Linked DNA regions of Homo sapiens: regions 2, 3, 4, 5, 6 and 7 are each linked to region 1. Evidence: promoter capture Hi-C in 16 types of primary human blood cells and fetal thymus (Javierre and others, 2016). All regions are on one chromosome and are shown on one strand. The core of a region is centred on a gene start or on the middle of the fragment in contact, and the rest is flanking DNA. Distances in the headings are between cores, read along the strand shown. Region 1 holds the start of SERP2 (stress associated endoplasmic reticulum protein family member 2). Region 2 has its middle 21 kb from the start of LACC1. Region 3 has its middle 39 kb from the start of LACC1. Region 4 has its middle 57 kb from the start of LACC1. Region 5 overlaps LOC105370182 (a long non-coding RNA gene). Region 6 holds the start of LOC105370182 (a long non-coding RNA gene). Region 7 overlaps NRAD1 (non-coding RNA in the aldehyde dehydrogenase 1A pathway).

Region 1 (4,149 bases), core at 738-3,237:
GCAGACACTGAGTCTACAGAACCTAATAGATACAACAGCCTTAGAAATTAGTTCTTGTTTTCTTCTTACTTTTGTAATCAGATAAGCTGTCAACTGAGATCTGACAACTGAACTCCGGTTTTTTAGTTCATGAAAAAGAGCCACATGACTAGTTATTTTTCACTGTGTCAGTTAGCAGGTCTGATCCCTTGAGAAGGAAGAATTGATCTCTTAGGGATATAAAACCCTGCATGCCTTAACATCAATTATAAGTTGCTTCTCAATGTCAACCCGGGCAGCCATTTTTTTTTCCTCAGTAAAAATAGGGAAAACATAAATCAATGTGACAAAATGGTTCCAATTTGATGGCATCTTGGCATTTTGCTGCCTAATCACAACTGAGTGATATAATTCCTAAATGAGAGAATTTTAAGGATTACTTAGGTCTTGTGTATAAAGCTCTGAGTAGAGTTGAGTTATGCTTAGACTTGTGTATAAAGCTCTGAGTAGAGTTGAGTTTGGTCCTAGAGTTTCTCTGCCGTAATACTGCTTGGTTTTGCAAGAATTCTGGTGTGATGATTACAGATCTAGCTTTTTGCTTAGTTAATCAAACCAATATAGTTTCTTTGGCTAAAAGGAATTGATTCATCAAATCTGCAAGCTTTCCCAGCCAAACTCCAGGCTTCAGCTGGATTTCCACTTAACTGTACGGGGTAACAGATCCCAGGCGCCTTTGCTCATATACTTGGAGACCAACTTCGCCAAACTACCCATGCGACTCATGCCTCTGAATGTCCAAAGTCACAGGCCTCGCATTTTCTGTTGATGATAATCTGCTTTGCTAAAAGAAACTCCTGAGTGTAAGGCACAGGTTTTACTTAAAAGTCCAGTTGCAAAGCTTGAATTTACAGTTCTAGGGACACCGAATGCCTGACAATAAACTGGTCTCTAAAGTTATACCATGAGAATGAGTCTGAATTCACCAAGTGGAAAGAATAGGAATGCTGCCCTTAGACTTTAGCCTAGGGGCTGAGGGAGGTCTCGCTGGAAGAGAGGTAAAAGAGAAAAAAGAGGCTGGAGGGAATGTGGGTCCAAATCTCACTCCCCATTTTGAGCTCTTTCCACACCTCCAGTGAAACCGTCACAAAGGGGCTGGAAAGAAAACTTGATCCTGGTGCAAGTCTGTTGGGGAGGGAAGACAGGTGGAGTCCGGGAGGAGATGACAAGTGGCCTCCATTTAGCCATTGATTCATTCATTCATTCAACAAACGTTCTAGAACATACTAGGTTCCAGGCTCTGTGTCATGCAACGTTCTAGAACATACTAGGTTCCAGGCTCTGTGTCATGCAGTTGACTTAACTGGCCCCTAAGGATGAGGCTTTCCGTCTTTCTCCGGGACAAGGCCCAGCTGTCTCCCGGGCAGGGGGACAGGGGGTGCGGGTCGGGGAGGAGGGCTCCTCTGCGCCTCCCTGGTAGCCCAGGTAGCCACTCCCAGAGGGGCCACGACCAACCAGGGCCCTCTCCGCCCACGAGGACGCCAAGCAGACCGCGCCGCCCTGAACCCAGCTCTCAGCCCCCACTCTGCAGGACCCCGCAGAAGGGGCGGGCCGGGAGCCGGGAGGCCGGACCCTGCGCCGCTACCCGCCCGGCCCCGCCCCCACCTTCCGCCCCACCCCGCCGGGCTGCAGGGCTCTGCCTGGCCGGCGCCGACCCCGCCTTACCAGGGTTTTGGCTACGTTCCCCCTCTGGGTGATGTTTTTGCTGTGCTTCTCGTTAGCCATCCGGATCCGCTGTTTGGCCACCATGGCTTGTGCGCTCTGAAATGCTCCCACCTGCAAGGATTCCCCCTGCGTTAGCTCCTGCGACAGGGCCGAGCGCGTCCCGCCGAGGCCCCCGCGGCCCACCCGGGCGCTGCAGGTGGCAAGGCGTGGCCCCGAGCCCTGCGCACCCCGCTCCCCGAGCCCCGGCTAGCCGACTCCAGAGAGAGGCCGCAGCCCGGACGGAAGTAATCTCTCATCTCAGGAAACCCTTTCCGACTTCCTCGCCATCCTTCCGGTCCCCGCAGCCACCTACCCCGCGCGGCCACCGAGGCAGGCGCGACCGCACGTCCTCCCGCGCCGAGCGGCCGGAGCGCAGCGCGCAGAGCCGGGGCCCTGCAGTGTCGCGGTCCTGTAGCCGAATGCTGCGGGGCCGAAGGTTCGGGCGACCACGGCGTTTGTGAGCGCGTCGGGGACGGGGACGCGGCCCCTCCTGTGTTTGTCGGCCGGTGACCCACCCCAGCCCCGGGGAAGGGATGAGGGCGGCCGCGCTTCAGGCCGGGCCGCGCGGTCTCCCCTGCACCGCCGCCCCCTGGACGAGGGCTGGACCCAAGGCGGTGGTCAGGGACCTCAGAACACAAGTAGAACCAGTCCAGGCCCGGGCCCGCGCTGCCCGGGTATGGTCCACCAAACGAGCCTTCTCTTTAAGGGTCTCGAGAAGGGCCCCACGCTGGGGGACCCCACTGCAGAACTTTTCGTGAGGGCTGCAAGGAGGGCCGCGTTGTAAAATAAAGAGGAGACACGAAGCGGCATCCCCTGAGGGTTGGGGATCGGGCCGTGAGGATGGAGTTGGGACAGGCCTTTTTGCTTTGGTAGTTGTAGGGGTTGCATTGGAAGATGGGCCAGCGGCAGAGCGGAGCATGCAGGAAAGAGGAAGAGGCCTTGGACCTGCAGCCCAGGTCGGATTTGGTGGTTACTGTCTAAATCTGAAGCTTTGGCCTGCCTTGACTCCCCACCCACCCAGGGCAGCTTGGACCTCTCTCTAGCCACCCTTGTCCCGAGGGGTCTGAGTGTCTCCCAGACTAAACTGGGCATTTTCTGCAGTGGAAGGATAAAAATGGAAGCGTTTACGCGCCTCCCAGACACTGGTATTAGGGCTCAAGAGCTCTACAGATTGCCTGGGGAGGTAGGGGTGGAAGGGGTTCAGTTCCTCACTTGGAGTTAGCTCTTAGAAGCTCAGAAGAGTGGAGGCGAAGAGGGGACATTCAGCCTGGGAGATCTGGGGCAGCGGGAAGTGGGGATACCGGGTCGGGGTGAAGGCAAGCAGCAGCACCCCCAGCATGGGGAAGAAGGCCTGAGGCTGTCTCTGGCCACTGCATCTCTAGGCCTTCTCTTGGAGCGGGAGGTGGCTGGGTTTCCAGGGAATTTTGTGTGAGTAAAATTTTCCCATGTCATTGGAGAGTTAGGAAGAGCTCCTCTTTTGGGGCCTTTTTCCAAGCGGGTCCCCCTCACCCCGCTACAGGCTTCTTGTCACTCAGGCTTCAATAAAGGCCATTCTGGGGGCTGCTTGCTGTAACCTAGAAGACAGAATTGCCTAGGATCATTAGTAGAGTCATTTTTTTTTTTTCCTACTCTACAGGCCAATTAATTTGAAACAAGCTTCTATGGTCTTTTAACTGTTAGCATCACCACTGTTGTAACAGGACCATAAACCCAGTCTGCCCCACTCTAGTCCCATGTTTTTAATAACTGTTGGCTCTTTTTTAGGGGTTTGGGTGGGGGGATTCCTACCTCAGTGATCCCTGCTGAGCCTGGCTGTTGTCTGTGGTCCAGAAGGTTCCTTTACCTGACTCACTCCTCTCAGATCATGTCCAAATACCAGGAGACTGACCCAGGTCCTCACCAGGTGAGTAGAGGTCTGGCTCTGAGCGACATTAAGGAAAAGACACAGACAGAGACTGTTTTCTCTTTGGGTCTTCACATTCAGTGAGTACAGTTCAGAAGTGTTCTTAACTGAGAGAAGCCCCTTTTGGGGAAAATTTTTCTTTACTGTTGACTCCTTTTTCCTGCTATGCTTCACTTTTCCGGCATTTTAAATTAGTTTGTTTTAATTATGAGTAGACTACATCTACACAGTAAATAGTCAAACAGAAATAGGATAGAAAATGAAAAGTAAAGGTCTCTCTTTCCTTGCCACCCTCCCCAAAAAGTTCCCACGGTTCCTGGGTTGCCCTTCCAGTATATACAAGACTATTTGTATATTCCCTTCTAAAAAAAAACGGAATAGTAGTATGCAAACTGTTCTGCCACGTGCTCTTCTAACTTAATATATCAACATTATCATATCACTTATATATGACCTCTTTCTTGTAGTTGTGTTATGTCTCATAGTATGATTATACAGTAATATAT
Region 2 (4,149 bases), core at 429-2,928, 470 kb after region 1:
CTTTAGTATCATTTAATACTTATCCTTTATTTAAATTTCCACAATTATCTAAAAACACCTGTCTTTAGAGTTGGCTTATTCTAATGAAACTCCAAACTAGGTCCACTCATTGCTTGTGATTGCCATGTCTCATAAATCTCTTTTAATCTAATAGTCCCCCTCTCATTCTTTCTTTCAATTTTTACCATTGACCATTTGCAAAAATTAGACCAATTGTCCCACACTTTGAATTGTGGTATCCTTTAACTTACTCCTTCCTCCTCCAAATTTTTTATAAACATGTGGTTAGCTCTAGAGCTTGATTAGATTCAGACTCAACATTTGTGGAAGGAATATTTCAAGGTGTTTCTGTGTGCTTCCTATTCCAGCAGATTGAGAAGCAACAATGGTTGCTACACTGATGAAATCATGTCAAGGAATTATTCATTGACTCTCATTTTATTGAATTTTCCTTCCTTCCTAGAAATGTGATTTCCCATAAAGCTGTAACAAAACATAACATGAGATTTTTCCTGTTGTGCAGTCTTTGTTAAGAGGCCAAAGCTGGCCGGGCGCGGTGGCTCACGCCTGTAATCCCAGCACTTTGATAGGCCGAGGTGGGCGGATCACGAGGTCAGGAGATCGAGAACATCCTGGCTAACACGGTGAAACCCCGTCTCTACTAAAAATACAAAAAATTAGCCGGGCGTGGTGGCGGGTGCCTGTGGTCCCAGCTACTCGGGAGACTAAGGCAGGAGAATGGCGCGAACCCGGGAGGCGGAGCTTGCAGTGTGTGGAGATCGCGCCACTGCACTCCAGCCTGGGTGACAGAGAGAGACTCTGTCTCAAATAAATAAATAAAAAATAAAAAATAAAAATAAAATAAAATTAAAAAGAGGCCAAAGCTAAGAGCGGTAACCCCATATTCTTGCAGAGACTAAAGCTTCAGAAGGGAAATTGATCAATTTTTTTTTTTTTTTGAGACAAGTCTCGCTCTGTCGCCCAGGCTGGAGTGCAGTGGCGTGATCTCGGCTCACTGCAACCTCTGCCTCTCAGGTTCAAGTGATTCTCCTGCCCCAGCCTCCAGAATAGCTGGAACTACAGGTGCCTGTCACCACGCCCAGCTAGTTTGTATTTTAGTAGAGACAGGGTTTCACCATGTTGCTCAGGCTGGTCTCGAACTCCTGAGCTCAGGCAATCCACCTGCCTTGGCCTCCCAAAGTGCTGGGAATACAGGCTTGAGCCATCGCGCCCAGCTGAGAATTTTTTAAAGAGCATTATCATAGTCTTGTGCATTTCCCTTTACTCCTGAAAAAAAAAAAAAAAGCCCCATCTCCCTACATCAGAGCCAGGTGCTGCAGGGAACCAAAGCAGATCGTTTAAGTTAAATTCGACCTATGGTCCCCTAAGTTTGGGAGTTGAATACACTGTGACCTTTGCCTCACTCTCCTCTGCTTCAGTCTGAAAAAAAGGAGGCTGGTCAGTGCCTGGAGCTGCCTGGATAGCAAAGAAACAAGGCTATATTGGGAATCGTTTGGACATCTAGAATTTGATGGGGCAAAAATGTCAAGTTTCCTGTGGGTTTAAGGGAGCATAGGTAGGCTACAACGGTCTTTGTAAAATAGGAAGAGGCTATGTAGAGTGTACCATCAAAGCTGGATGGGTGCGGTAAATGGTCCGCTGGAGAGCACTTTGTTTGAATGGGTGTGTGGTAGTGGCGAGGAGGCGAGTTGCAGAGGTGGCCCCCTAACACAACCTATTTCTCATCCTCCCTCGCTATCAACACCCTGGCATTAGTAGGTGAAAAAGATGATCACAGTTGGGAAAATAGAGAACAAATCATGCTTTATGCCCCAGTGCTTGTCTGGTCTAAGCTGGGGAGGTGAGAAGCTCTAAATTTAAATCAGGTTAGACTTAATAATAGTCTAAAGTTTACCACAGGTGAAACAAATGTCTAAAGATGGGTAAAGAAACATGGCTGAATGCTTTAAAACAGATCTCCACTGCAAGCATTCTTTATTTGTAGTACTTTTATTATTACTATTTTATTATTTGGAGACAGGGTCTCACTCTGTCGTCCAGGCTGGAGTGCAGTGGCGCGATCTGGGCTCACAGCAACCTCCGCCTCCTGCGTTCAAGTGATTCTCGTGCCTCAGCCTCCCGAATAACTGGGGCTACAGGCACGCCACCGTGCTGGGCTAATTTTTGTATTTTTAGTAGAGATGGGGTATCGCCATGTTGGCCAGACTGGTGTCGAACTCTAGACCTCAGGTGATCCGTCCATCTCGTCCTCCCAAAGTGCTGGGATTACAGGTGTAAGCCACTGCACCCAGCCTGCAGCACTTTAAATATATATTATTTTAATAAATGCAACTAAACATTGAAGATATAAAAGTACCTAGTGAGAAGGGGTCCTCAAAATTGGTTATACATTAGAATCCTTCAGGAAGCTTTAAAAGCCTTGATGTTGTCCTACCCCAGATTCTGATTTAATTGGTCTGGCATGTGGCTTAGACATCAGGGTTCCTAAAGCTTAACAGGTGATTCTATTATATAGCCAAGGTTGAGAACTACTCTAAAAATAGAGACTACTGAGAGAAAAAAAAAACACAAAAAACCATTTGACTATTTTACTATCAAATATCAACAAAACTATAGAAAAGTTGGAATTTTTGTGGAAAAGATCTACGTTTGGTCTTCACTCTCTGGGTAACTGTCATAGAGCATTGATTAAATAGTTTGCATTTGTTTCACTAAAGGCATGGATAGGGTATGCTATAAGATAAATACTAAACATATATTATTACAGGAGTGGAAAGAATTAGCTTTTAAAAATAAATATTAGCTTTTAACATACATGATTCCCACAGGAGACATGTATCTTCAAGCAGTATTTTTTCTTTTTAAAATTTTTTTGCTTTTATTATTTTTAATTGACACATAATACCTTTGTATGGGGCACAGTATGATATTTTGATACATGTGTACAATGTGTAATGACCAAATCAGGGTAATTAGCATATTCAATACCTCAAACATTTATAAGGTCTTCGTGTTGGAAACGTTTAAAATCTGCTTGTCAAGCTATTTGAAAATATACAATAAATTGTTATAGTCACCCTACAGCACTGTAGAAAACTAGCTTATATACCTCCTATCTAGCTGTAATTTTATGTTATCCAACCTCTTATTATCCCTCCAAAACTTCTACCCTTCCCTGCCTTTAGTAACCTCCACTCTACTCTCTACTTCTATGAGATCATTATTTTTTCTTTTTTTTTTAGCTTTCACACGTGAGTGAGAATGTGTAGTATTTATCTTTCTGTGCCTGGCTTATTTTACCTAACATAATGTCCTCTAAGCTCGTCCATGTTGCCATAAATGACAGGATTTCATTCTTTTTTGCAGCTGAGTAGTATTCTATTATGTATATATGCTACATTTTCCTTATCCATTCATCTGTTGATGGACACTTAGGTTGATTCTATATCTTGCCTATTGTGAATAGTGTTGCAAAAAACGTGGGAGTGCCTTTCAACATACTTATTTACTTTCCTTTAAATATATACCCAATAGTAGGATTGCTGGATCATATGGTAGTTCTATTTTAGGTTTTTGAGGAACTTCAATACTGTTTTCCATAATGGCTGTATTAATTTACATTCCCGCCACCAGTGTATAACAGTGCCCCTTTCTCCACATCCTCACCAGCATTTTTTGTCCTAAAGCAGTATTTTAAAGTTTATGTTGCTATACAAGTTGGAAACAGGAAATTCTAATGATGGATAAGGAAATATGGCCAAATGTCTTAAAACAGATTTCTATTATATGCATTCTTTCTTTAGTGATTTTGATATGTCATTATTATTTAAATAAATTCAACTAAACACTGGAAATAGAAATGAACCTTGTGAAAATCAATAAAACACAAACACTCCAAAATATGATTTATTTATCCTTCCAGACCTTGTATTAGATTATTTAAGGATTCTTTCCCCTCTGATATGGTTTGGCTGTGTCCCCACCCAAATCCCATATTGAATCGTAATCCCCACATGTCAGAGAAGGGGCTTGGTGAGAGGTGATTAGATCATGGGAGTGGATTTCCCCCTTGCTGTTCTGGTGATTGAGTTCTCATGATATCTGATGGTTTAAAAGTGTGGGCACTTC
Region 3 (4,149 bases), core at 964-3,463, 460 kb after region 1:
AGTTGTGTGACTTTGAGCAAGTCACTTCAACTCTCTCAATACCAGTTTACTCATTGTAAAATGGGGATGGGGATAACAATACTTCCCTTGAAAGATGGTTGTGAAAATTAGAAAGAAGATACGAAAAAAGTTCCTAGAAATGGGTTTGCTTAATAAACAGAGGGTGTTATTTGTATTTATCTTTGTATACCCACAGGGCATAGTGGATAGTAATGTGTGTTGATTAATTAATTCATTAATGACGAAGAACTTGAATGCCTTTTCTTCAGCATGCCAATAGACTTTTAACAACTTTGCGGAAGGAGCTAAAGTTAGCAGGGCAAAATCTTTCCTGGAAGATGTAAACTAGTTTCTATTTGTTTCCAGCTACTGTTCTCCCTCAGAAGAAAACAAACCTGGCCAATGGACCAGTGAGACAACACAGCCAATAAACAAATCTAGGATCTGAAATCAGAGGGAATACATTTGGGTTCTAGCCCTGATACTGGCATTCTGAAGTCGCTTAGAAATAAAATCAGCTCCATCCATCTCAACTTCTGGTTTTCATTTGCATGCACTTCATCTAATAATCATTTTTGCTTTCCCTATTATGGGACCAAAAAACCTGAATCTCACCTGAGCAATGTTTGAATTCTCCTTAAGATAGTTGAACAATACCATCTGAACCATGAAAAAAGAAAAGTACAGAAAGGGAAAGGCACAGAATAGGTGTTTATCCAAAGGAAAAAAGTTCAACCACCAAAAAAACAATTAAATTGTATCTAGAGATGTCCAAATAAATAGGAACCTTCATTACAGGAACAATAAGGCTCCCTCACAGAAAAGAAATTCATTAGCATATTGATTCAATTTCCCAAAATAAAGAGAGGAAAGAATAAAAAAAAAAACCCGTAATAATAAGTTTAGTTGAATTATACTTATAATAGAAGTGATGACTGAATCAACAAACTGAAAGAAATTGAACAGTCTGCCTTAAAACAAAAAGGATACACAAGTAATTCAATCTCTACAGGAGAGAAACATGAAAGGATTTTTAAAGGAGAAAGGAATGATTTGCAAAAAATTTCAGTGCAAGTTACATGAGTTTTCTATAGGACTTAATTTTTTAAAAAACCATAACCCTGCAAGCCATGGAAATAATTAAGAAAACAATTATTTAATTAGAATAGATCATTTGGCAATTGACTATTGAAGCAGTTTCATTTTACCAAAAGGAAAAAAAAAACAGAAAATGATCTTGTAAACTTTTGCTATTCTGACCTTTTTTAAATATTCTGAAAAAATACCTTCTAGCTAAAAGCATTTGTGAAATTCAGATGGAGAAATACAAAACTGATGTCACGGAAATGCTTAAATTGATAAATTCCAGCCCTTCCAAGCAGGCTGAGGAAATTTTTAAACACAGCAATGAGGAAGGATCCATTATTGGCATGAAAATAGGTTGAGTATTCCCATCTCAAATTGCTCTCTTTAATGGACTTGTTTCCAAATAATCCATCCCATGATGAGAAGATGCTTACCTTCTGATCCTAAGGAAGAGGGCCAAAAAGTTTTTCCATCCATTTGTCTCTTTAGAAATAAGACAAAAAAATTAAAAAGAAAGTATATTAATTTCCAATAGATCTAGTTTCTTATGCCCGTGGTCTGCTCATATAGGTTCATAGACAAGTCATTCTAAAATATCATGCCATCTCCTCACCTCCCTTTTGTGTAAACAAATTTCCTTTCAGAAGATAAACATCTGAGAATCTGTTTCTGCCTCAGAAGCACACAGGTGGAAACAGCCCCTAAAGCTCTCTAAGGGTATTTGCCCACTTTAAATAAGGCAGTTATTCTCTGAGTATCTAGACCTAAAATTAGGAATGATGTATGTATTTTTCTTGTCATTATTTTCCTGATTCTGTGGAGGTCTATTGAAAGTATTTTCTAACACATTTAATATTGCAAGCTACCTGAAGAATGGGCCCAGTCCAGCCCCGTTCCAGTGCTCAGGCCTCAGGAAAGGGAAGCAAGGTATGCAGCTTTGACTGGGATTATTTGAGAAAGAAACTCTCAATACTGAGACACACTTTCAATACTGAGCGTCCATGGAAGCAATCCTTCAAGTACTGACAAGCTTGGGAGTTGTGAAAGAAGAGGGAGAACTCAAGTAACAAAACACTGTCATTTAGTATTGCCCTAACCATAACTGGAGCGTACTGAAATCAACCCCAAACAACCAACGTGAAACTCACTGCAAAAAATAAACGGAACATAAATATCCTTCAGTATAAAATGATGGCACAGAAATATTGTGATTCAACAAGCTTCTGAGCCCTTTCTAATATTCATAATTATCCTGGTTTCTTGCCCCAGCATTAAATGTGATGATTCAATCTTTTTCTGACAAGCCACACAAAATTAAGCCTTAGAGGTTGAGTTTATTTTTGTGCCCTTAATACTTCCCTAAAAGTTTTGTTTCAAGAATCAAAAGTCTACTATCCAGGCTAGTAATAACTAGACTCCAGTCCTATCTTTGACTTTTCCAGTGACTTGGTACTTTACCAAAGTTAAGCGCATATTTTCTTTCTCTCTCCAGTTTCTCTTTCTTAACATGGAAACAATAATATGGTACCTATAATTTGCCTCAATAGGGTTATGGCGAATATTCTTCAAACTCATGAAAATTCTTCTGCACAAATATGAAGAGCCATTTTATATTGAAACTGTTATGATACACATTAAGAAAATATTAAAATAAAACATTACAGTAATAGCTTCACAGTGGCTAATAGAGCTGAAAGTCATAATTATACTTACACACTAGCCCTCAGGATACCTGATTACTGACCACAGACATTTTACTTCTCAGAAATGAAGGACAAAATGGTCTGTTCAGTTTATACCTTTGTCATCAGAATCGTTTATATTAACAAAAGTTCTATCCACTAAAGAGTTATTGCCTGTGACTCACATATTTTAAAAATATGCAGCCTGACTAAAGCATCCTCCAGCATCTAAGATCTCTCTTAGCCCAAAAGAGGTATGCAAATCTGACTTACTGCTTAATATTATTATCAAGATTAGTTTGATGGGCACTCTAAGTAAATCTAACCAAAGTAAGAAGAGTAGAATTATGGAGCAGGGGAAAGCATATGTAATTCATTCTAAATCTGTTATCCTGGGGTCAATTGACCAAGATGTTGGCATTATGTCACCTTACAGATACCAAGAGCCCAGTATCAAGTGAGGTATTAGACTGGATCACCTCTGTGCTCACTTTCAGGGGAAGGTTATGTGGAATGATAGGAAGAGTTTAAGGTTTTAGTTCCCACTCCCAAATTTGAACTGAAATTTGAATTTCAGTTTTATCTGTTGTATAATATTGGACAAATCATTTAATCTTTCTGAGTATCAGTTTCTTCTGTGTAAAATGGCCACAACACCAACCTCAGAGAATTGTAAAGGCTTTTGTTGCATTCATCACATCAAATTTTGTTTACAGTTCCTTCTGTGAGATTCTTGAAGGCAGAGACTATGTCTTATCCATTCCTAAATTTTGGATAATTAACATAGTGCCCAACAAATAAAAAACATTCAATGAATATTTGTGAAATTGTGTTGAATCAACTATTTGTACTAGTGCAGCCCTTTGACAACATACTGAATAATATTTTTGTAAAAACAAAAATTCCATTTTTAAATTCAGGTAGTATGGTAGATTAGAATTGTTCTGCAAATATTCACCTTTATCCTCCTCTTTGATGAGAAAAGTATATTCCCTAACCCCTGGAATTTAGTCTTGCCCATATGCCTTGCTTTGGCTAATAGGATGCTAGTGACCATGACCTGAGCAGAGGCTTGAACTGAGCTTGCATAACCGGGCTTGCTCTCTTGAACTCCTGCCTTTCACCACGAGAAGAGCATGTCTTGTGCAGCAAGTAGTCCAAGGAGGATGAGAGACATTTGGTGCCAAGCCCTCCCAAAGCCAAGCTGGGTCAGCCAAACCTCAATTGACTTTTAGATGTGTCAGCCAGAAATACTCATTACTCTACACCACAGTTTTGGGTGGTTTGCTAGACAACATAATTGTGGTGTAGCTTATTAAAACAGATGGTGTTTGATTAAAGAATGTACACCATTTGCTATGCTATAAGTTCTCAGAGTGGA
Region 4 (4,149 bases), core at 1,234-3,733, 440 kb after region 1:
ACAGGCCCTGGGCCTCTTCTGGGCTGAGGCCAGATGGGATTTGAGCCTGATGCAGAACTTGTTACATTTAATATTAAAGAAGCATGAAGCAATAGCATGACCCAGGGAGGCGTAGAAGTTATGGCCAGGCAGCCTTCTCTTTCCTGCCCTGCTGTCTGATGCTACTCAGAAATAAAGGCATCTTCTTTTTCAGATAACTATATAAACAATACATAACAGGTGCTAGTTACACATTTTACTACCATAATTCACAAAAAGAAAATGCCACAGCTTATAAATTGTGTGTGAATTTCGAATTTCATTTTGTCCTTAAAATGATTTCCTTTCCCTAAAACTTGAAAGCCAGTACATTCAGTTGCCTATATAAATTAACTCAACAGTTTGGGGTATGCCTGGAGAGCAGGCCTAACTTCAGTACCAGGCTTGCCAGATTCAAGGGTTCAAGACAGAGCCTGGTCTGTTTCTGGTTTTATCTAGCTGTGTACTGGTGGGAAAACATTTCACAGTGGTATCTTGTTCAGTATTACTCCTCCTAGGGTGTCTCTGTGCCCTCTCAATTTATTTCACTGACAAAAAGCATGTTTTTAATCTGTCTGCATCACTGAACTGACTGAGAAAACAGAGAGCACAAAATAGATTCTATTCCTTGTGAATTATTAAAGCAAGTTGTCAGCAACTGTAAATCCTGCTAACGGATGACAGCCTCAGAAACAGAGAATACAATCTGTACAGCCTAGTGGAACAAAAGAAAGAGAATCACTTCTTGAATGGAAAATTGAAGAAATTCCTATTTAAATTTAGAATATGAATTTCAAGGCCATCCTGACCATCAACCCAAATCCAAATTAACCAATAAGTCCTTTTAAGCCATGGTTGGATAAAGTTTCATACCATTTTGTTATTGTTGTTGTTCTTGTCTTTCCTTAATACCTTATCTGGTTGAGAGCAGAATCAGCCAGAGTGATTTAAATGATGTTTCAGAGGAAAAGTTTGTGGGCACTTAATATAGATACCTTTTAAAGCCTTTGTAAAAAGATGTAAAAATTGTACATAAAATAAAACAAATGTATGACTTTAACCACTAAATGAAACTAAAATAAAGGATACTGAGTTCATGTGAGTTCCATTCTCCCTTTTGCCAATTCTAATTCATTGTCTATTCATTTGGCAAGTGTTTGCTGGAGTCACACAATAATTTATTTCCTCTCTGTTCTTTTTGCAGCAAATACTCTTGGGAAGGTATTTAGAACTTCCTGGCCAGCAAAAGAATATGAAAAAAAAAGTCTTTACTATAGTGTTAACCAAAATTTTTTTATTTCACCAGTTTGGGCGTTTATTTGTATCCATCCTACATTAGAAAATGCCAGGGAGTAGCTAAATATTAATAATGTTGTTTTTCTTTTTCAAGAAACACCATGAGCGCCACAGACTCTGATTCAAAATGAACTCATGGCCTAACATCAATGAGACACCGAGCACCAGATGTCAGGTCCAGAGCTGCCCTGCCTGGGGTGTGAAGGGGCCCCTCCCCTCTCTGAGCCTCAGTGGCCCCACATTCATATGACCTGAAGAGTAAATGCCTCCTGAAGTTTTGTACTTGAGGCACCTCACTCACCCACCCTGGTCCAGTCCCTGCCTCAATGTTACTACTTTGGTAAGCTTTATGACTCCAGAACCAACAAGTATGAAGGGCTTTCTTTATTCTGTCTCTTCACAGTGTAAGATGGGTGAAAATTTTAACAGTTCACCTTGCCTCCAAGATTAATCACACTCCCAAAGCCCAGCAATAGTGGATGCTTTCTACATGAGCTGCCTCAAGTTGGGGTTAAAGAAGCATTGCTGCCCCAAGAGTGTTCAGAAATTGCATCGAGGGCAGTGTCTGAATGCTGACACTAGACTGTTTTGCTCAACAGTGATCGCTCCTTTGGTTCTTGTCTTGTGCTTTAGCCCTGATTTTTGCTAACTGTGACATTTGGCTTTAGTTCCTCTTGAGTTTCTGCCTCCTGGCTTCCACCTTGTCTCAGCAGCAGAACTTCCAACTCTGACCGTTAGCCATGTCCTTGATCTGGTTTGTCGTGTGGATTCTCTTTGGGTTTCCTGCCCTCTTTTCCCCACAGTCCTGGGCTAAGGTCTGGAGGCCATTTCAAAATCCATGACGGTCACTGTGAGTGTGTCCTGGAAGCGAGAGAGGAGGCCAGAAAAACGTTTTCTAATGCTCTTTTCCTACCATATAAAACAGATTTTAAAAAATATATTTTGCTCTTCTGGAATGCATAGGTGTGTTACAAAAATTAACATCTGTGAAGCCTGTGTAGATTAATGTGAAAAGCATTTGTGTAGAAGAGTGCCAAGCTATTGCCTTGGCAACAACTCCACAATAGAAAAAGAAAACCTCTAACATCAGCTATAATTACAAAGTAAGGCGGCTGCTTTTGTTTTTACCAACACAGCAGCTCTGTACTTCCAGGTGCCAGTTATCCCCTTCAAATTAGCTATTGTGATAAATTATCAGTTATTTCATCTATTTCAGCAGTAAACCTCTGTCCAAAAAATTGTTTGGAATGACCTTTTGGTATTTCCTTTATGACTGGTAGCAGGGACATTAAAAAAAAAAATCCTTAATGGTAAAAAGTCTTTGTCCTACCAAATGTGGGGGGAAATTTAGCCATAATCTAGGAACTATTGGAAAGAGACAGAGACAGAGACAGTGACAGGAATGGATAGATAGATGATAGATAGATAGATAGATAGATAGATGATTGATAGATAGATAGATAGATAGATAGATAGATAGATAGATAGATGATAGACAGACAGAGATTATGTCTATCACTATTAGACCTGGCTCTAAAGTAGTAAGGTAGATGTGTGCACATGTATGCATGCACGTGGGGCAAAGGGGAGGCAGGTGTATGTGTGAGGGAGTGAGAAAGAGACAGAGAATATCCTAGGCATTCCAATTTGTTGGTGGAGTGTGATTTTATTTCTCACCAAACAAAGGAAGCAAATCTAACAGGCTGTGCATGCTACAACTTCCACTCTTGTCAGGAAAATTTCTCAGTTTCAGTCTTGATTGGAAGCAGAAATTTTTTTGAAGCACAGATGATTTGTCAGCTGGAAGGCAGAAGGTCTCTTGGGACACACCACAAGAATGTCTTTCCTCCATCCAGGAGTCACACAGTCTTGTCATCATCTCTGCTGCTGCAAACCAGCCAACACGGTTAGATGTACAGACTTGTGAACACTTTCAATTGGATTTTTGAGAAAAAGGTTACCCTCCAAACTGGTCAATTTGTTCCTAAGCTTCAAGCTCTCTCTCCCTTCCCCATCCAAAACACTTCCTTCTTTTTCTGCTTCCACTAGTCTTTATTTCATTATTCTCTCCCTCAGACCCCTCTCTGCCTCTATAAAGATAAGCAATTATTTTAAGCTTCAAACAAGATGCTGACCCTTGGGGGGCCTTCAAATGCAGAAAGTCTGGGAGAAGATGGAGGATTTGCAGATCAACAGCTCCCTAGTTGATACTCTGGGATACTTTGCAGTTAAGACTAAGGGACTGATGCTGATAGTTTTACTACCTATAGAAAAGTGTGCAAGTAAAGAGAACCAAAGCCTCTCCCCTTCTCTTGAGGAATCTGCTTGCTGCTTCCCTTCCTGTTGGCAGACAATTCAATTTTCAGGTGCCCACAAAGAGGCAGAAACATTCTTACTTTATGAATTCTGGTATTTCTTAACTCATACTGTATATGATTCCTGACCAACATTAACAATGGACTGAATTCCCTGGGATTATAATATTCCCTGAATCCCAGGGTATCTGCCTGTCAGATTCTGGTGAGGACCACCTGAGGCTAAATCAGGACGAAGGCATTCATCCTGTGTTATTGCTCCTAATTCTCCATGGTGCTATTCAACTTCTCACTCTGTAATTGGCATACTACCTTCCCAATTTGCCAGGACTGGCGATTTGCCACATTTCAGAAACTACTTTTGTGTATGCCAGATTATACTGAGGTTCCATGTTCATGGGGTTTTTAAAATCTCTTTTAATCCCTTTGATTGATAGATTACTAAAATATTTCAGGGTGGATTTGTTGGGTCTGTTTTCCTGTTGCCTAAATTCAATTTAGTTTAATTTATATATGGAAT
Region 5 (4,149 bases), core at 915-3,414, 390 kb after region 1:
TGGTGGTGGGGCCGGGGGGAGCCGGGAGAAGCACTCTGCAGAAAGAACCTTCTTGTCCTTTGTTAACTATAAAATCCTCAGCTCTCCGGGGAAGTAGCCCTCCTTTGGTGGAACTCCCTGGAACATAGGGTTCACTTGAGGGGCATTTACCAGTCAGCCCATATTCTCTGGGGAAGAACAGCAGGCAAAGTAATGCTAAGCTGATGGGCCTCTTAGGCCTGAGGAATTCAGGGATGACTACCTAGGTGGCTCAATGGCAGCAGAAGCTGTGGGAAATGGACAAATGGACAAAACTGGTGTGAGTTTTTAAGCAATACCCAACTTACCTTTCTTGGTGACATTTTACAACATGTGGCTTTTTTTGCTTGATTTACAGTCACATCCAAATCACTGCTGAAGCAGCTCTTCTGCTTCCTACTCCTAAATGCTAAATACCTTGGCAAGTTTGGCACATTCTTTACCGATATTACTCATAAATCTTTTCACTAGAGACTTTGACATTTCTTAAGTAATGCCTGAGATGACAAATTAGCTTGGAGTCAATCTTCCCATCTATTTTTATGCAAAGTTTGTTTCCATTTGACTATAAATAGAAAAAAAAATGGGGAAAAAAGATAACTAGGAAAATTGATTTTTAAAATTCTCACATTAAACCAGGTTATAAATGGATGGAAAACTGGGCTTGAAGGTTGACATTGAGCAGGTTACTTAGTCTCTTGCTGTCTCAGTTGTATCATCTGTCAAAGAGTAAGATTGGATTCAATAATTAAATTGTCATTTTAGGATTGGCACAAGGAAAATGAAATTTCCTAGCAGCCTTAAATTTTTTAAAATTAATTTTCTATTAAATTTTAACATATATATAAAGAAAAGTGGCATATTGGCCAGGCACGGTGGCTCACACCTGTAATCCAAGCACTTCGGGAGGCTGAGGTGGGCAGATCACCTGAAGTCGGGAGTTTGAGACCAGCCTGACCAACATGGAAAAACACTGTCTCTACTAAAAATACAAAATTAGCCTAGTGTGGTGGCACATTCCTGTAATCCCAGCTACTTGGGAGGCTGAGGCAGGAGAATTGCTTGAATCTGGGAGGTGAAGGTTGCAGTGAGCCGAGATCGTGCCATTACACTCCAGCCTGGGCAACAAGAGTGAAACTCCATCTCAAAAAAAAAAAAAAGAAAGAAAAATGGCATATTATGATGATCTCGCTTAATGAATTATCACAAAAAGAACTCAACCATCTAAGCACAACCTTGATGAAGAAATCAAGTATTACTAGCATCTCAAGCCTCTCTCATGGCCCATCAAGTCCCCACCCTGCTCAGCCTTTTCCAAACATAAACACTCATCATTACTTCTAAAATCACAAATTAGTTTGCTTTTGAACTTTATAAAAATGAAATTATACCATATGTTTTTTAACGTCTGTAAGACATATATTGGTCTATAATTTGGCGCTAATCAAAATTCAGATTTATCAACATAGGTGACCAAGGTTTTGGGCCTTCGTGCTTAAGCCTTTATGTCATTCAGAATTACTCCATATGTGGGGAGGGAAATGACTCTATGTATTATGAGCTGAAAGATATTTAATGTACATAATTAGAGTTTCACATAACCATTGAAAGAGCTGGGGAGGCAAAGGTCAAGAAGGCCACTTTAGGAGACCTGGTGGTATAGTGATCACAGAGAAGCCACCACTGATGACATCGGCTGCCTGTCCACGGGAACCCGGAGCCAAAGGAAGCCCTCAGTGAAGATCTCAGCTCCCCAGCCAAACTGTTGCAAGAAAAAAACACCTTCTCCTTCTCTTCCACCTTTGAAATCTCATGTGAATTCTTCCTACTGGCAGCTTTAACCCAGAATCCGATTCAGGAAAACGTTCTGTGACCTAGGGAAAAAGAACACTGAGAAGGGCAATGAAGACACAGAGCTAAAAGCAGATAATGTGGCCAACACTTAGTTATAAACTAGCTGGTGGAAGCAAATTGACCTCTCTGCATTTCTAATCTTCTAGTCTCTCCTAAGTCTTCAGATCCATTTCCAATACAAATCCTATAGTGCCCTCCTTAGGGATACTTAAAAGCCTGCTTCTATGTTACTTCTTTCAAAACCAGTGAGTGACTTAGAAGGTCTTCTCTTTTATTGCAGATGCGTAGAGCAGCTTCTGAAGATCAGCAGGCCTGTGCAGCATCATCTGAGGGTCCCCAGAATTAAAGCAACATGAAACCCTTCATACTGAGTGTGGCCACTTCCCACTGACCATGACTCACAAATGGTGAGGCCACCTGACAGCGTTGAAGATAATTACTATTCATCCTCTTCTGCTAATAGAAACTATTTTCTCCCCTAATCTAGGTTTCCAATTTTAGAAGCTGCCCTGTCCTCATAAAAGAATTACCAGGAAGGTAGGAGGTTTGTTTGTTTGCTTTTCTGTGCATCTAAGTACCCTGACAATCTAATCTCTGGAGAGTCTCAGTAACCAGGCAACACAAGTCATGCTCCAATTGTGCGGTCCTCAATCCACTTTTCCTGTGCTATTCCAGTTCAAAGTAAGAATACCAAAGCCAGAACTGCAGAAGATAAATGTGGATCTTTATTACTACAAGCAGATAACGGGGTCTGCCCCCTCTTCTTATTGCTGAGTAGAAATTCTGAGGCAAGTGCTTTTAAAAAGACTAGAACAGCACATTTTACCTAAGAATAAGATTATAGCTAGTAACCTGTTTTTCTTACAAAAAAAGAAAATGGAAGGAGATAGCTTTTGTCTGGTGACAGTTTATTTTAACCCAGATGCTTCCTCCACTTGTAATTTGGCCTCATTTGTGTTTTCAGAAACATCACCAATTCAGACGGGTTTCTTGGGTAAGGACTTAATGGACAAGGTTAAACACAGCTGTTCTGGTGCCTGAAATCCTTAAGAGTCTAGCAGGACCGGAGCAAGTAAAATAAACTCAGAAAGAGCTGTCTGGATCAGTGTTTCTAGAGACAAAATGAGTATAAATGAGCATGGAGTCAACAGGCCTCCTGGGTCAAGGTCAGAGGCAACCTGGGGACACGGATTAACAGCGGAAGAACACTGCCTATAGTACATTTGCTATGAGACAGCACAGAATTGGACATTCTGGCCTTTAATCATCAGGCTATCACAAGGAAAAGTGGTCCAGATTTAGTACTGTGTCAGCACTTTTTATAATAAATGCTTCATTTACTAGGAATTTAGCTATCGAGTTGCAGATGATAAAAATGACACTCAAATGCAAGGTCAAACAGCAAACATTTATAATTCCTGTCTATTAGCTAAATACACAGTCCTAATTATCCAGGTGAAAGGGGTAATTGTTTTCCCAAACAGTGCCTCAATCTCCAGTGATTTACAAAGCACTTTTACACACATCATCTCGTCACAGTGGTGTGTATGCCCTTGTTACACAGATGGATTGAACTGGAAATTGTTTCATTTGCCAGTTTTAAGTATCTTCCTTTTCCCTGTGGGTGGTTTCTGTAAGGCCTGATGGACATATTATCATCTGGATCTTCCAGGCAATGACACCTCTAAAGAGGCCGATGAACTAGAACTATCAGTTCTAACACCTTAGGCAAGAATCCCTCAATCTCTCTGGGTTTCAGCTTCTTCATGTGTATACTGTAGATATGTTGTCAAAATTGTGCTAATCTTCACCAACTAATAAGAAATGATAAGAATGAGATTTTGTGGATATGGGACTTTAATATACAGTGAGAGGAATATAAATCAGCATGACTTTTTGCTGGTGTTATGTAATAAAATGTAAAACGTACATACCATTTCATGCAGAAAATTTATATCCAAGAATCTATCCCAATGAGGTAGTTACATAAATATGCAAGTATACACAAGATGTTCATCACAATTAGAAACAACCAAAATGTCCACCAACATGAGACTAGTTCAAAAAGATACGAGGTATTCATACAAGAGACTTTATGCATCCACTGAAAAGAATCATGTAATTCATATTGGTTGACTCAAATAGAAGCTCCATCACATATTTTCAAGACAAAAGGAATTACAAAGCAGTATGGTTGATATAATCCCATTTATGTGCAAATCAAATAAATTCCAGATTTCACTGTGGTTCAATTCAGCCCAGTGTCACATTCACAGA
Region 6 (4,149 bases), core at 918-3,417, 360 kb after region 1:
GGCAATTCCAAGGTAGGACCTGGGTTGTAAGCTTTTCTTTTGGTGCCAGAAACTTCAGATCCTGCCGTTTGCTGGGCCTTCCCTTACCCTTGTTTATCATTTGGATTGCCGTGCTGCAGCTCCTGCCTGACACTTTGATTCAGCATTTTATCCCAGATCCATTCAGGAAGGAATTCGAGGAACGAGCAAAATCCCTGGAAATAATTTATCGAAAGTAACCCATCCACCCTCCAACCTAATGAAAGATTTCATTAGTTACAAGTCTGAGTAACTCACAACCAGCTTCCACTGCCAAAGTCCAGTTTTCAATAGGAAGTCCATCCCTCATCCCATTCCTTCTTGCGCCACAAGGGCACTTTATTTACTCTTTCTCCAGACATTGTTATTTCCTGTGGCACTTCTTTTGCAATAACAAGATGCCAGGTTAATCTCCTTCCCTGCATATCTCTCCCGTTCTCTCCCTCCCTCGCTCCTATCTCTCTCCTGAGAAGCCACTGAATGGCCTACATTTAGGCAAACCAAGAAAGACACAGTTAGACACAGCTTCTCCCTCTTAACAAGTGTTATTTCTCCCTCTTAGAGGCACTGCCCTTCCTGAAGCACATAAATTCTCCTTTCCTGTTTGCAAAACTGTCCACTCTTCTTCCTTTGGGAAAAGGTAGGCAGGCTCCAAGGAGGGGCTATGCTCACTGCATGTGGCACGAGCTCTGTGTTCTGTTGGCCAAGATTCAAAACCAGCACTGGAACAAGACAGTATCAACCACAGGGTCCCTGTGCAGGGTCCCTGTCCATCCCAACAAATGGACGACTCACTTCCAGAGACTGGGCACTCAGCAGCCACGCCCAAGGCCCCAACAGCGTCCTAACATCAGGGCTAAGGCACTAGAGGGTTTGATGGTTCTGAGGCACTCGTGGAGAGAAGAAAGGAGTGGAAGATAGAGGAGAGAAGAAAGCAGGGCTTGGACAGATAAGGCCAGAGGGGATTTCCCCCTTCCCAAGTTGCTCCCAGCCACCAAAGAGTTTCCGGGCCTCACAAAGGCTTTTCCCAGCTCACCAGCCTGTCTGACCACAGCCTAACAGTGAGATCCAGAACAGATACATCCTTAAAGCACTTAGGCTTACTGCAAAAGGCCAGCATAGTTGTGGAAAGAGTCCAGTTTATTTGGGCTAGGGTCTATGGGCTGCGATTTTCTCACACTTGATTTTAGCCTACAGGCTGAGAATTGACTAGGTTGTGATTTCTTAACTGAATTTTGTTGGGAGCTCTGACTCTGAATTTGAGTGCCACTGGCTGCTGCATCTACTTTGTATCAACTCCAGGTGCTCCTCCCACATCTAAGTCTGAGGTTTAAGAAGTACAGTAAAGCTGCTATGAATTCCCAGCTATGGGAATTTTCCTCAAAGCTTCATTGTCTAAACTCTGAACCTCATCATAACCTCAGTTCTGCCTAGCTCCATAACTAGTAGGTTTCACAATTTGATGTCCTCTTGCTGTGCTGACCCACTTGGAACTGGTAAGTGAGTTCTGGACAGGTATTATTGGCCCGTGATCCCTGTAGAAACCAGACTTGCAGAATCGTTTTCAGGCTCCGTTCTTACTGTCACGCGAAGGGCTTTGACTTCTAATAGCCAGGAAGGGAGCCTAGGCAGACAGGATATTCCCTGAGTATAACGGGATCTGGCAACGGGCTGTAGGGTGGGAAAATGTACAAGGGGAGGAGACGCTTGTATGTAAATAGAGACTTATCTAGATTCCAGGGGTATGCATTTGATGGGGCAAAAACCTTGGGAATGCATAGTTGAAACATCTTTGGTTGGCCTGACATATTCTGTCACTGTTTGAAACTAGGAAAACCTCATTGACCAATCTGATTAGCAAATATTAATTAACTAACTCAGTGAAAATGTATTTAACTCAAATGAGCGACAGATGTAATGTTCCATTATAGACCTTATTTAAATATTTATCTGGTCAATTTGGTCAACATTTTAATATTCATTATATATATGGGCATATTCTGGAAAGATACATTTGGTTTTCCAGTTTGCCATCTCTTTCAAGAGGTGTCCTGGGTTATGTAGCTTGTGTCATTTGCAATTAACTGGTTAGCCTTTTAATTGGTTCCATTGTGTGAAGGAGAATGATGGGAAGAACACAAAGGGAGAAGTTTCTGGAAATGGTGTTAAATTTTGACATAACTTCCTAAGCCATCTCTCATTCTTTGCTGACCTGGACTGCAAGGTCAAGTGCACAGATGTGCTTAGGAAGCCGACAGTGCCAGGTGCCCCCAGGGCCTCGGAGGTAGAAGTTTGGGTGCACTCAACTCCCACAGAGCTGACTCTGAGCTCACTGCCCAGACGATTGCAATAAAACCCTCCTTTCACATGAAAGGAAAAAAGAAAAACATAAAACAACCCTGCTCTGTACCGTATTATCCCAGGCAAGCATAGGAAATCAAGTCTGAGTCACCCATTTAAATCCAAAGTGCTATTTTTAGTTGGCAGTGTCAGCTGTTATTTGACATTCATCCTGATGTCTAGGCCTTTTGGCCAGAGTTCTAGTCATTTGCTGATCATTAATGGAGTGGATGAGACAAGACTTATTAACAAGGTTCAGTTTGAGGGTACGGATTGGTGGCATAACGATCTTACCTCTTTTCTGCAGAATGATCAAAGCTCAGCAGCTAACGGCCTGTGAACAAACATTACTCCCATCCACATCTTCCCATCTCCACCCTTCCAGAAATAGGCAGGGTTTTATCAAAGAGCTTTCTTGTTTGATGCTACTCTATAAATATAATTTGGGAAACGTACTATTTTGAAAACCAAGACATTTTTAAAAGGGGCTTTTTTCAAAAACGTAAAGCTGGACTTCACTACTGATGTGTTTATATTCACGGATCACTCAGGCTTTCTGTGGCTCAAGCTTTGTACGTATTCCCAGAAATTTGGCAAACCTTCTTAGGGGAAGCCTCTGGAAAATGTCTTTTGTCCTCAGGCCATTCAGCAAGATCCTAGAATCTGGGGATCAGAGACTACAACCCGGAAGGGACCAGGCTCAGAGCCCTGTGGGGTACTAGGCAGGAGGTAGGTCCTTCAGCCCCTCTCCTTGAGGTTATGTTTACTGCTACCCCTTATGCATCCACCATGCCTTTTGTTTAATCTGGTAGATAAAGCCTTCCTCTTGTTGGTTGTCATGTTTCTAGATTCCAGCACAACACACCTGCTGACTGCCAGGAAGTGCTTTTCACCCCAGGCTGACCAGTCAAGGGAATAACCACAGTCTGGGAACCAGAGAAATTCAGCTGCATGTCTGAAGCAATTTAATTTATCTTAATACATTTTCACAAGTGGAAAATGTGGAGGCCAGCACTGTATAACTTAGTAAATTCAAAATATGGGCAAAAACAATCAAATCTGGTTTTTCCCTAAGTGTGTCAGATGATTTCTTCTGGCTTTCCATTTTACCATGTTATGTAAATGTGTTCAACCAAAGGCAAAGGCTTACATTCTCTCAGAGCTTCGTTATCATCAAGCATTTGAGTTACCGGGAAAACAATTTGGTAATATATGTCAAAAGCCATAAAAACATGACTTTTTTGTGCACGTGATTCCATTTCTTGACATTTTTTGAAATATATCCTCAGGAAATCACCACTGTACACAAAAATTTAGATGACTGAACAATCATCTTGAAACAGACCAAATGTCCAACGAGATAAGTAATGATTAATTCATGTCACAGAATACAATGCAGCCATTTAAAACCTGTATCTGTGAAGAATAGCTAATTGCATGGAGAATATTCCATATCACACACAAAAAAATGATGGAGAGAGAGAAAGAGAGAGGGGTTGAAGGGTTGATGTGGGGGGGTGGGGGGAATGAGATTGGAAGCTGGGAGAAAAGAGAAGAATAGAATGTGAACAGCTGTACTTCTGATATGTGGGACCACAGGGCAGGGGCAAGGTGTGGGCTATTCCTTGGAATGTCAAGATGAGCACATACACTCTCTAGAGGACTTGTCTACTGCTCTGTTGGTTGGTGTTGGTAAGCTATTCCTGAAAATTTTAGAGTACTAAGAAGCAAGGGTAAGTGAAATTATAAGCAAATGGAGACCACATGCCCTCTGCTCAGACCAGGAAGTCA
Region 7 (4,149 bases), core at 979-3,478, 340 kb after region 1:
TCGAAGCAGGATGATCACTTGAGCCCAGGAGTTCGAGACCAGCCTCCACAACATAGGGAGACCTCATCTCTACTCAAAAGAGAAAAGAAAAACAAAGATGTCAGCAGGGCTGAGTTCCTTTCTGGAGGGTCTGGGGGAGAATGTTTCCTTGCTTTTTCCACCTTCCAGAAGCCATCCTCATTCCTTGGTTCCTGGTGTCTCCATCCATCTTCAATGTCAGGAACAACAGGTCAAGTCCTTCTTACAGTGCATCTCTGAAGAGGTAGATTTTTATATTGTCTTTGCATTAGCTAAGTCATTAGAAAGTAGTCTTTATATGTTCCAAAGGCAAAAATCAAATAAATCAGTAAAAGGTTTCTAGTTAATTGCTAAGTTTTATTGAACACTTATTATTTGCCATTCATTTTGCATGTGTTATCTGATTGAAGCCTTTTAACAAGTCTATGTAATAGGTACTCTTATAAGCACCGACTTAGACGTGATGAAATGTAGGAAAATTAACTTCTTTACTCATGGAGCCAAAAGAGAGACTCATTCACAAGTCTGTCTGGTTCTCAGGTCCATGCTGGTAACTTAACTGCTATGGTGCTTCCTGACAAACATTGTTTAAGGCATTAACATAACCTGCTAGGCATGCTCAAATAATCCAAGCGCCCATACAATTTAAAAATTGCCTTGAAATTTTTCATGCCCTCTGCCTTGTTAGCAATACCTGCCTCTTCCACCTCTTTGCAATTCTCTAGATTCAGACACAGATGAGTTCTGTCAGCTCCTCTCCACATCCTGAGCTCTCCCATCCTCATGGGAAAAGGAAATACAGAAAAAGTAGAGTTTTCCAGATTGTTTCTAGTCTGGCTTATTTCTTTTTGGATGGAAACATTTGGCAAAGTGATCTTCTTAAGGCTATTATAACAACTATATGCAGCAAGCTTCTTAGTGTTCATTTAAATAGAAGTGATTTTCATCAGTTCAAGTTCCTGGTCTGCACTTCAGTTACCGTGACTGTTCTTTTGAGCTGTAAATCTAGTCTGACTAATGCAGGATAATGAGCAAAGTCTCCCTGCTCTCTCTTCACTATAACTCAGCCATATATCATAGTACAAAATCTCGATTCTGACTTTAGATATATATTGAGCAGCTTGTCAGAAGCTCAGCTGGCATTGTATATGAGGGTAGGAGGAGTTGCTACAATTTAGACGTAACAGAGTTTTTTTCAAAAAATTTTTTCTTTCAAGTGACTTCAACCCCCTGATTCATTTTCAACTTGGAAAAAATATCAGGTACACGATGGACTCTTAGAGCTGGATTTTGGTAAGCACAATGTACAATTCAGTATCTTTTTCTGTAAAGGCAATTTTTATTTTTTAATTTTTTTTAATTTTTATTTTTTTATTTTTTTGAGACGGAGTCTCACTGCGACCTCTGCCTCCTGGGTTCAAGCGATTCTCCTGCCTCAGCCTCCCCAGTAGTTGGGATTACAGGTGCCCGCCACTGTGCCTGGCTAATTTTTATATTTTTAGTAGAGACGGGGTTTCACCATGTTGGCCAGGATGGTCTCAAACTCCTGACCTCAGGTGATCCGCCTGCCTCAGCCTTCCAAAGTGCTGGGATTACAGGTGTGAGCCACCACACCCGGCCTGTAAGGGCAATTTTCAAAGAGCTATTTCTATCATTTTTTAAGCTGATGTGTTCTTCTTTGACTGCCACACCAACTTTATGCCTTATTTTCAACATCTTCAGGGTATTTATTTTTTTAATTATTGCTTTAAAGCCTAATGAGGCCAGGCATGGTGGCTCACACCTGTAATCCCAGCACTTCGGGAGGCCTAGCTAGGTAGGTGGATCACCTGAGGTCAGGAGTTCAAGACCAGGCTGGCTAACATGGCCAAACACTGTCTCTACTAAAAATACAAAAATTAGCCAGGTGTGGCAGGCACCTGTAGTCCCAGCTACTTGGGAGGCTGAGACAAGAGAATTGCTTGAACCTGTGAGGAGAGGGTGCAGTGAGCCGAGATTACACCACTGCACTCCAGCCTGGGTGACAAAGTGAGACTCTGTCTCAATAAATAAATAAATAAAAATAAAAACAAAGTCTAATGAACCATATAACAGATATTCTAAAATATGTTCTACCCTTCAAAGCCAGTTAAGTCTAGTACCTGTTTCATAACAAACAACGATCCCAGTGAATGTTCTGCTGTAATTTCCATGGTGAGAAATAGTTCTTCATAGTCATGCGGCTCCCAGGGTTCTTCTGAATTGGTTTGGAATCCAAGACAAATGGTAGCTTGTTACTTTTAGCAGTCACCACCAGGTGACCCTGTATGGTGTGTGTGAGCAGAGAGGCAGGGTCAGCAAGGTCCCTGAGTATACTGGGTTAAAAAGTGCCCCTCCCCTCCTCACTCAATTCATGTCCACCTGGAACCCTCAGATTGCTACCTTATTTGAAAATAGGGTCTTTGTAGATATAATTAGTTAGGTTAGGATGAGGTCATACTGGATTAGGATGGACCCTAAACCCAATGACTGGTGTTCTTATAAGAAGAAAGAGACGGCTGGGCGCAGTGGCTCACGCCTGTAATCCCAGCACTTTGGGAGGCTGAGGCAGATGGATCACGAGGTCAGGTGTTCGAGACCAGCCTGACCAACATGGTGAAACCCCGTCTCTACTAAAAATACAAAAATTTAGCAGGTCCTGGTGGCGCGCGCCTGTAATCCCAGCTACTCAGGAGGCTGAGGCAGGAGAATCGCTTGAGCCCGGGAGGCGAAAGTTGCAGTGAGCTGAGATCGCGCCACTGCACTCCAGCCTGGGCCACAGAGCAAGACTCCATCTCAAAAAAAAGAAGAAAGATGGCCGTGTGATGACAGAGGCAGGGACTGGAGAGATACAGCCACAATGCCAGGAGCCACCAGAATCTAGGAAGAGGCAAGGAAGGACTCTTCTCCTTCCTTCAGAGGGAGCATGGTCCTGGCAACACCATGAGTTTCAACTTCTTGACTCTCAGACTTTGAAAGCATAATATTTGTATTGTTTTAAGCTGCGCAGTTTGGGGTAACTTGTTTCAGCAGCCCTAGGAAATGAATGAACTGAGGAATCCCTGAAGGATGTCACTAAAGGGGGGCAGGCAGAGTCAAGACTGTCCTCTCACTTGGGACTCCTGGGCAGAGGACTCTCAGCAGCTATGCTGTGGGCAGCGGGTGAGAGGAATGTCCTGGAGGGCCAGAGCACAGTGACCAGAGATGGGAGTATCTCATTTCAACCCAACTGCGGCTGCTGAGATGTGAGGAAAGTCCAACTGATGCAATCCTGGGAACGCAGAGTTAGAGCTGCAAATTAAATAGACTCCAGGAGTAAACTGGGAGAGAAGAGCCTCTGTAACATGGTGATCTTCTCAGTATACCAGCATGCATAAATTTAGGGCCACTGAGCCCAGCCTGAAAATTCTGCAAATAGTTGAACCACAGTAAATGGAAAGATTTTCATTATGAATTATGGGAAAGTGTTCCTTGGGGAAATCCAAGCTTGGTACTTGAGCCAAGACTCCACTCTAGCTGAATTTGGTCATGTATGCTTATATAATAATGAAATTGATACACTCTTTCACTATTTGATGGTCACAGCCAAATTATTTTTTAATGGTTGTGCTTAATATTTATTTACAAGCAGTCCTCCAGAAGGCATGGATTTCACTGAGGAGCTGACCTTGGTGAGGAGCTGTACTCCCACCATGATCGCATGACTCTGGCTGCTAGGGCTGCTTTGAGTTCCTTTTCTAAAGGGTGTTAGTGCTGGCCAGTGAGAAATTATAAATGGTTATTCTCAGACACAGCTTGGATTGATCCAAGACCTAGTTAACAAAGATGCTCTACATTAGGACAGAAAAGGTAACTGTGGAAACTTTTCTTTAGTTCTGCAAAACTTTTTCCAAACTATTATCTCTTCACATAGACTTTCCTAGACCCATATCCTCAAGGCTTTTAATAAGTAATGATTTTCTAGTCTGGATTCAAACCAAGACCTAAAGCCTCGAGTGCCTGCCAGGCCCAACCACATGGTGCTGCTCAGCGTCAAACCTGCATGAGTCTCCTCCCTTCCTTCTCTTAAAACCAATGAAGCTGGCCCAAAACCTTATTTCTGAAATTTTTATG

The links. Contacts are between HindIII fragments. The CHiCAGO score rates a contact against its expected background, and 5 or more counts as called.
Region 2: a fragment that was not itself captured here is called in contact with the fragment with the promoter of SERP2 in region 1 in 1 of 17 cell types (M2 macrophages); the score reaches 5.1 in M2 macrophages.
Region 3: a contact is called between a fragment that was not itself captured here and the fragment with the promoter of SERP2 in region 1, in 7 of 17 cell types (M2 macrophages, M0 macrophages, M1 macrophages and 4 more). The highest score is 9.1, in M2 macrophages.
Region 4: a contact is called between a fragment that was not itself captured here and the fragment with the promoter of SERP2 in region 1, in 1 of 17 cell types (M1 macrophages). The highest score is 5.2, in M1 macrophages.
Region 5: a fragment that was not itself captured here is called in contact with the fragment with the promoter of SERP2 in region 1 in 2 of 17 cell types (naive CD8 T cells and naive CD4 T cells); the score reaches 5.2 in naive CD8 T cells.
Region 6: a contact is called between a fragment that was not itself captured here and the fragment with the promoter of SERP2 in region 1, in 1 of 17 cell types (total CD4 T cells). The highest score is 5.1, in total CD4 T cells.
Region 7: a fragment that was not itself captured here is called in contact with the fragment with the promoter of SERP2 in region 1 in 4 of 17 cell types (naive CD4 T cells, total B cells, naive B cells and 1 more); the score reaches 6.1 in naive CD4 T cells.

Annotation. Positions count from the first base shown.
Region 1 is chr13:44,371,662-44,375,810 of GRCh38, reverse strand. It overlaps SERP2 (stress associated endoplasmic reticulum protein family member 2), which reads right to left and starts at 1,987. Exons shown (of 3, transcript NM_001010897.3): 1 at 1,702-1,987. The coding sequence starts at 1,785. It overlaps LOC105370297 (a long non-coding RNA gene), which reads left to right and starts at 2,245. Exons shown (of 2, transcript XR_001749858.3): 1 at 2,245-2,414; 2 at 2,614-4,149. The HindIII fragment of the contact is 1,852 bases long and covers 880-2,731 here.
Region 2 is chr13:43,898,954-43,903,102 of GRCh38, reverse strand. No RefSeq gene overlaps it. Among named protein-coding and RNA genes, the nearest start is that of LACC1, 21 kb to the right of the region's middle. The HindIII fragment of the contact is 1,507 bases long and covers 925-2,431 here.
Region 3 is chr13:43,916,805-43,920,953 of GRCh38, reverse strand. No RefSeq gene overlaps it. Among named protein-coding and RNA genes, the nearest start is that of LACC1, 39 kb to the right of the region's middle. The HindIII fragment of the contact is 190 bases long and covers 2,119-2,308 here.
Region 4 is chr13:43,935,068-43,939,216 of GRCh38, reverse strand. No RefSeq gene overlaps it. Among named protein-coding and RNA genes, the nearest start is that of LACC1, 57 kb to the right of the region's middle. The HindIII fragment of the contact is 1,644 bases long and covers 1,662-3,305 here.
Region 5 is chr13:43,984,831-43,988,979 of GRCh38, reverse strand. LOC105370182 (a long non-coding RNA gene) reads left to right here. Exons shown (of 6, transcript XR_941918.3): 5 at 2,153-2,279; 6 at 2,360-2,402. Among named protein-coding and RNA genes, the nearest start is that of NRAD1, 35 kb to the left of the region's middle. The HindIII fragment of the contact is 7,532 bases long and covers 1-4,149 here.
Region 6 is chr13:44,012,200-44,016,348 of GRCh38, reverse strand. LOC105370182 (a long non-coding RNA gene) reads left to right here and starts at 1,307. Exons shown (of 6, transcript XR_941918.3): 1 at 1,307-1,514; 2 at 2,999-3,087. The HindIII fragment of the contact is 1,522 bases long and covers 1,407-2,928 here.
Region 7 is chr13:44,029,920-44,034,068 of GRCh38, reverse strand. NRAD1 (non-coding RNA in the aldehyde dehydrogenase 1A pathway) reads right to left here. Exons shown (of 3, transcript NR_026955.1): 3 at 3,606-4,149. Among named protein-coding and RNA genes, the nearest start is that of NRAD1, 9.7 kb to the right of the region's middle. The HindIII fragment of the contact is 2,593 bases long and covers 932-3,524 here.